Regions from separate parts of the Homo sapiens genome. Here region 2 is linked to region 1. The links are contacts of gene promoters, found by promoter capture Hi-C in blood cells and fetal thymus (Javierre and others, 2016). All regions are on one chromosome and are shown on one strand. Each heading gives the region's core, a stretch centred on a gene start or on the middle of the fragment in contact. The rest is flanking DNA. Distances are from core to core; before and after follow the strand shown.

The links. The method cuts DNA at HindIII sites, captures the fragments that hold promoters and counts their contacts. A CHiCAGO score of 5 or more calls a contact.
Region 2: a fragment that was not itself captured here is called in contact with the fragment with the promoter of TLCD4 in region 1 in 1 of 17 cell types (naive B cells); the score reaches 5.2 in naive B cells.

Annotation. Positions count from the first base shown.
Region 1 is chr1:95,115,322-95,118,816 of GRCh38, forward strand. TLCD4 (TLC domain containing 4) reads left to right here and starts at 2,034. Exons shown (of 7, transcript NM_152487.3): 1 at 2,034-2,296. It overlaps TLCD4-RWDD3 (TLCD4-RWDD3 readthrough), which reads left to right and starts at 2,602. Exons shown (of 8, transcript NM_001199691.1): 1 at 2,602-2,770. RefSeq lists a cis regulatory region at 259-786 and silencers at 2,041-2,187, 2,115-2,394, 2,475-2,524. The HindIII fragment of the contact is 12,433 bases long and covers 1-3,495 here.
Region 2 is chr1:94,869,773-94,873,823 of GRCh38, forward strand. The region is part of intron 12 of SLC44A3 (solute carrier family 44 member 3); the gene reads left to right. Among named protein-coding and RNA genes, the nearest start is that of SLC44A3, 51 kb to the left of the region's middle. The HindIII fragment of the contact is 735 bases long and covers 2,053-2,787 here.

The DNA of each region.
Region 1 (3,495 bases), core at 784-3,283:
GGTCTCGAACTCTCAACCTCAGGTGATCTGCCCGCCTCAGCCTCCCAAAGTGCTGGGATTACAGGCGTGAGCCACTGCACCCAGCCATGAACTGGATATTTTTAAAGAGATTAAGCTACCCTGAATTTTTCAGGAAAAAATACAGTTGATGTATTCTTCTACCTCCTAAGGTCACTGAGTTTTAATTAGCTTAAAACTTGCAACATTCAACTACTATTTACTGAATTCCTCTCATAGCTCAGGCCTTGTCCTTGATATATTAACTTATATGTTCTGTACAATCTCAAAAACAATCTTGCAGTTTTCATGAGGCATTTGTAGAGGCCTAATATGAAGGAATATAGTGGGACATAGAGTATAGTGGATTTCTGTGGGTTTACCTGGCTTTGGTTACTGCTGTTGGTGTTAGAGAATTATGCATATCAAAGATAATGATGGTGCATTTATCAGGAAAGAACAGAGCTACTATCAGCCACCAGAGACTAGCATGGGAGAGTTTCTGTAGGAGGTAGTGTTGATACAGACTCTTGAGAGGACACTGTGAAATTGGTATTTTCTGGGCTGACTTCACAGATGTTCACATATAACCATCCTGCCCACAGAGAGTTATGAAATAGCTATGTGAGTGCACAAGGTAGCTATTGCGCAAACCAAAGTTGTCAGGTACTGCACATATTGTGAAGGGACTATGATGGGACACCGTGTGGTTCAAAGAGCACTGGAGCCCTGGTACATCCTGAGAGTCTTGGGGAGAAAAAGGGGAACACGCATTTGGGGGCCTGAAAGATCTTTCTCTCTGCTTGACTGCAGGGCAGGTTTCTGTCCCTCCCTGTTCTGTGGTATAGATTTTGTCTTTTCCACATCAGTCCAGGTCTTCAGAGTCACTATGAATTATTATTACCATTTTAAAGATGAAGAAATTGAGCCTCAGTGAGGTTCAGTTAGCTAAAGGCACACAACTCTAATAAACTGACAGAATTCCAGGTTCTGATTTAAATTCTATTGCCCTCTCTTGAAAATAAACATGGACAGCTTATATGAGCTTTTGTGTATATATTTTCTGGTCTAAATCTGCGGCAGATATGTGTGTCTTTCTGCGCATGTATATAGTAGATCAAATATGTTAGCTCTATTGACATTTCTTAGAAATAAATATCCTGTTATCAATGATAGTGTTTACAAATTATTTATTTAGAACTTACCTCTTTTCAAGAAAAGGCCTTGTGATTGCTCTCTGCGAATTATAATGCATGAGTATACCTCTTTGTTATTTTGTTTTGTTTCAGACAATTATCTCTGGTTGATGCAGATCACTTGGAGGCTTTTGGGGCTGTATATAACAGGTCAGAACATCTATTTAATGTCAAACTTTATCTACTAGGCAACTTGGAATTCTCAGCCAGCACCAAATATTCAAATCCAACTTCCACACCCCGACAACAGAGGGGTTCCGGGTGTAGGTGTAGTGCTGGTGCACCCATGAGGGTGTTTTTCAGGAATTCTGGAGGTGGTGCTGGAGAGAACACGCTTCTTCTACACGCGCCCCCTACCAGTTTGGTATGCACCTGCAGCCCCAAAGAAGAACTGGCGGGACTCGAGTGTGGCCGTGTCAGACGTGGCAAGAAAAACCAGCAGTTGCCTTTTCATCTCTTTTCTGATGATCTAACCATGAAGTCCCCAGTATTTGAGCATTTAAGGCAGAATGTAAATTCATAATTTAAGAAGATTTTTTGTTACGTGGCTAGCCCAGGTACTGACCGCTGCGGGGGCGGGCTCACACAGTTCCCCCGCTGGCAAGTTTTGTGACTTGCTTTGGAAAACCCGGGAATTGCACCCTCTGCCCTTGGCAAGGTGTGAGCTTCCAGGATCTCTCCGCTGCGACTTCGGGTGTTAGGGTTTTTGGGCTCTTTCCGGGACCCAAGTTCCAGGGCAAGAAGGTCTGCTCGGCGGCCCGCCTCGGGGCCCCGCCCACTTTGGCCAGGGTCGGAGCCGCCCGGAGCGGGAGCCGGAGCCCGAGCGGCCGCGGCCCCTTTAAGGAGCAGCTCTGCGGTAACCCGAGCCCGCAGTCCGGGCGGGCGCGACGGCCGCCGCGGTAGCTGGAGCCTCCGCGACTGCACCTCCAAGCGGCCCGGAACCCGCGGCTTCCCTGGCTCCCGTGAGCATCTCACCGGGCGGCACTGGCCAGCGCCAGCCCTCGGGCCGGCCCGGATGAGCAGACTCCTGTAGACACCCGCCGCCCTCTCCCGGCTCGGCGCAGCCGCCGCCCGCGCGCGACTCGCCCCGGGACCCGGCACAGGTGACGCCGTTTGGAGGGGGGGTTGGGGAGGAAGGCGGGCTTGCCTCGCCCCGCGGCTCCCCCGCGCCAGCCGCCAAGCGCAGCCCGCGGAGAGGGGTGCCGCGGCTTCCCGCCCCTGGCCTAGCGCGGCCGAGAGCTCCTGCGCCTGGAGGCTGGGTGGGCGTCCGGCGCGCGGGAGGCGGCCCGGGGCTCCCGGGCGGGCTCCGGCAGGTGTGTGCGGAAGGCTCAGCATCGTCCCCGCCCGGCGGGCCACGGCGTCGCTCCGGGAGCAAATGGTGTCCCGGGGCCCGCGGCCCCCGCGCCGCCCGGGCGCCCCGCATTCCTCTCGCGTTTCTCGGGCTGCACGATTCCGGCTGCCCTGTCTGCCTGGCGGTGCCTCTCGGGTCTGAGCTTAAAGCGGGTGGGTGCAAACCTTTGGGCATCCAGGGAGAGCTTTCTTGTTAGAGCCCACACACAATCGGGCGCATCAAGTGGGTAAGTCCCCCTCCCCCGCCGCCACCTTCTGAAACAAGTAGCTCTTATTTACCCTTGCAGTTCTCAAGTGGGTCCCATTTTTAGCCACTGAGTGCTGAAAAGTCTAGTGGGAAGGGACCAGGCGTAGAGTCGGAGGGAGAAATTGGTTTCTATTTCCATCTTTACCTCTGTAACCCCTAAGTGCCTCGGTTTACCCAGCCATGAAATGGGATTCGTAATGCCAGCAGTTTCCTACCCCTCCAAGACGGCAGAAAAACCTCTGTGAAAACACTTTGAGTCTAAATTCATTTAAGAGTCGCTGTTGCTGGTCTGTATATTTTTAATTGTACACACATTTGAGTGTTAATGTGGTGCACACTTTTATATGAAATTATGAAATTTACTTTAAAGACTGATCTTGGATAATGTTTAATCCAAATACCAGTTTGGAGAAGATGGAAGAGTTTGTGTGGACCCTAGGAATTGATGTGTGAAATAGGAAAAAAGATTTAATAAAATCTTTACGCAGTCATAAATGGAGTTGAGAAAAATTGACCTTGGATTGTGGTGTTTTAAGTGAGTTACTCCCGTGCCAGCGCATGGTGTCGATTGAAATGTAGCTTCATCTTTGTGTAGCCGATTAAGGTAATAAGTTAGAGAATCCCAGCTCCCTTTTAATTGTGCTATATATGAGGAATTTTTATCCTTGCTTATCTTTTCCTTAAATTGGGCGAAACGAAATTAGA
Region 2 (4,051 bases), core at 1,170-3,669, 250 kb before region 1:
CACCTTTTCAGAAATTTCCTTGCATTGGAATGACTTACTAGGGGACATTGTGGCATCTCTGTCTCTGGAAATCAGATTTAAAAAGGCTGAACCCTATTTTATGTTCCTCATTTTGTGGAATAGGAGCTGGAAAATACTAAAAGAGAATGAGATCCATTTGTTACCATCAAAACTCAGATGCTCATCTTTATTTAACATCAAGGAGATGGTTGTGTTTTCCCACTGCTTCTTAAAAGCCTAATCCATCTTCACTAAATCCTAGTAGGGAGGCAGGTGGCAGTTGCTGCATTTTGTGAACACCCAGCCTAAGGCTGCACAGGCATTCACTTACAAGGTGGGGAATGAAACTCTCAGTCTCATAATTTCTCATTTACTTTTCTCCCTACATCATAAATACTGAGTGTGTGCATACTGAAAAAATTACATGTTCACCTCACACATGCGTTCATCCAGCAACCATGTGTTTATGCTGTATGCAGACTATTTCTACCTGGGCATAATAGGGACCAGGACCATGGTGATACAGAGGTGATACAGAGTCATTACTGTATAGTGCAAAAGGCAAGCCTCCAAGAAATTGACAAGCTAGTTGTTGGGAGCCAGGGGCCAGTAAGTGGTATATGCATGAGACATTTATATGACAGTACAGAAAAGTACATGTTTAAGTGTTGGGATAGGGCTGTGGAAGTTCAGAAAAGGGGAATCTTGGTCACTGGGAGAGGTCATTTGACTCTGTAATTAGGGGAAATTTCCTAGGAGAGGTGGACCTGAGTATAGAGCACCCACTGGAGATCACCAGCTACTAACGACAGCAATAACAGCTGTGGGTATTGGCAATAAACTATTTTGCCAGTTGTATGCTGAGCACTTTTCCTGCATTATATCAGTTGTTAGGTTTTTTGTTTTCGTTTTTGTTTTCTTTTGTTTGAGACGGAGTTTTGCTCCTGTTGCCCAGGCTGGAGTGCAGTGGCACAATCTCAGCTCACTGCAACCTCTGCCTCCCGGGTTCAAGTGATTCTCCTGCCTTATCCTCCGGAGTAGCTGGGACTACAGGCACATGCCACCACATGCTAAGTTTTTGTGTTTTTAGTAGAAACGGCATTTCACCATGTTGGCCAGGCTGGTCTTGAACTCCTGACCTCAGGTGATTTACCCGCCTTGGCCTCCCAAACTGCAGAGATCACAGGCATGAGCCACCATTCGTGGCCAGTTGTTAGTTTTTGAGATAGTGTCTCCAGTTTACAGATAGGGAGATTGAGGCTTAGAGGAGGCACATAGTGGCAGAACTAGGATTTGAATCCAAGTCTGTTTTCCCTCCAGGACCCAAGCCCTTAACCACTGTGCATTTTTAAAATAGCCAGAGGAGGACTCATGACCACCACCTGGGGATGTGAGCAAAGCCAGAGTCCAGACAAGTAGAGCTGGCAGAGCACATCTTGTTACACAGCAGACTTTTGTGGAGGAAGACGGGAAAGGTGAAGGAGCAATGAAGATGATGAACTCACTGTAACTGTAATCAAGCAGTTATCCATCCAGAAAAGGCTGGTCAGGGTGGCCTGGCCCCTCCTCCTTTCCTCAGGCAAGTTAGTGGTCAAAGCGTCTGGGAGTGTTGGCTGGCCATTCTCAGAGACTTTCAGGCAAAGGGACCTTACAGCCTCCCCTCTCCCTCCCAGCACTTTCCAGGGGCCTGGCTAAGAACCCCACTGTGAGACTACAGGCTAAGCACTCAGCAAGAATGGTGTACTTACTGTTTCTTACCAGGTCTGCACACAGTTCCTCATGGAAATGTCTCCCTAAGTGCACATCTCTTGTCCATTGTGGACACAGGCCTCTGTCCCAGCCATGATGTTGGCTTTAGGTCAATGTTCCTCTAAGTATGAAACCCACTGGTGAGCCCCAGGACTCTTCCTGATGGTTCCAAACTGATCTGAACATTCTAGAAAATCCTTTTTTCAATTTTTATAGGCAAATAGCAGGATTCCATAGGTTTTTCATTTTTGCATACAACAAGGAGCTGTTTGCCAATCAATAAAGTAAAGCGTGTGTTATTAAAGCTTACTAAAATGTGTTCTTTATAAATCCAAATTGGTGTCTTAACATAGTTTCTTAAGGACTCAAACTCATTACTCTTTTCAGACATCTAACTGCCGAGGCAATGCCTGGTGACCCTGCAAAATTTATGAATGCACACACGTAGACAGTTGGGATTTGCAAACTGGGAAAAGAACACTTCGCTACCACCAGTGTTGCCTTGAGTTGACTGTGTTGTTTGGTTGCAGTCATTCTTGTCTTGATGTTTTACTTCTGTTGAGTATTCCATTTATTTTTTTATTTTTTATTTTTTTTGAGACAGAGTTTCACTCTTGTTGCCCAGGCTGGAGTGCAATGGCACGATCTCGGCTCACTACACCCTCCGCCTCCCAGGTTTAAGTGATTCTCCTGCCTCAGCCTCCCGAGTAGCTGGGATTACAGGCTTGTCCCACCACACCTGGCTGATTTTGTATTTTTAGTAGGGATGGGGTTTCTCCATGTTGGCTGGTCTCGAACTCCTGACCTCAGGTGATCCACCCACCTCAGCCTCCCAAAGTGCTGGAATTACAGGTGTGAGCCACCGTGCCCGGCCTTTTGTTTATTCATTCTTTTTTTTTTTAAATCACTTTAAGCATTGCATTCCTCTTCAATGCTTTGTTCTTCTTCCAGCAGAAGTGGGAATGGGTATAGGCAATGAGCTGTGGGCTAGTGTCAGAAGTCTGAGAACCACCATATCTATACCAGTCTCCTGGGAGAAGCTTCCAGGTAAAAATGACTTCAGTCAGGTATAGCAGCAGTTTGCCTCTGCCTCTTCATTATTTGAGTAACTTGGGTGAGTCCCTTAAACTTGCTGAGCTTCTGCAATATGAAAGGGTTAGATTCAGTGACCCCCAAGGTTCTTATGTGGCTTTTTGACCCTTGTCATGGCATCCAGCCCAGAGCTGGGGGCATGCACAGTGCTGCCCCACAGCATCAAAGCCATGAGATGCTTTGTGTGGGAAATGGGGGGAGAGTGGAAAACAATATGAGCTGTTTGTTTTCCTGTGGTGTTCCAAAATGACAGGCTCATTTCTCTTCATGATATACCTTGTATCCATGGTGAGGACTTATCCTAGAACCACAAAAATCAGTGATGTTTCATGTTGCCTCAATTCTGAGGCACTGGAATCTTGTAGAGTTGTCTGAGAATGTGAATGAACAAAGAGGAGCCATTTATCTGTATCTACTTACAGCGATCCTGCCAGTAGTTCTGCTATAACATATAGTGATAAATAAAATAACTGGTGATGAGATACTGGTCAAATGCCAGGCAGCTCAGTCATTCTCAACAGTAGGAGTGTACTGTAATGTCCAATGCCTTTCACAGCCCTTTTCTGCCTTGGGCTATCATGCAAGATAGCTGCGAGCCTGATGGATCTGTGCTGCATCCCCTTGAGGAGGGAACCAAGTGACCCCGATGCACCTTGATGCAGTGTGTAAAGCGTGCAGCTTACTTTCCTTTGTCATCCCTCTAGATAAGATCTAGTAAGTACATGTACAGATTGTTGCCTCTTGCTATTTGATCAGAAATGCCAGCAGCTTCCTGTCTTTCTGACTGATGAATATACTGGTCAGAAAGGTCCCAGATAATCTTGTGAAGGTCAAGGCAGAGAAAAACCTGCTGCTTCTGGGGAAATATACACCTCTCTCCCCTTCTTACCTCATAGTGCCTCTCCCCAACCTGCTCTGCCTGCCAAGACTGTTTTTAGTGAACATAATGTTGGTCTCTGTCTTCTAAGCCTTTGCGGCAGACTCAACTTTGTAGTATCTCCAAACATTCTCTTCCCCCGCCCCTTTCCTTGCAGTTAGCTCTGTTTCAATGACTGTCTTTCTCGTAGTCCATCAATAGCTAAAGCACTCAATGACTTTTCCACATCAGGTTTGGTTGGTTCATCCCAAGCCAGTTGGCAGATCTCCAGTGACTCCTCCTTTCTGCTCTCCCAGAGCAGCATGTGCATCTCAGAAAAAAAGTAAAAATATT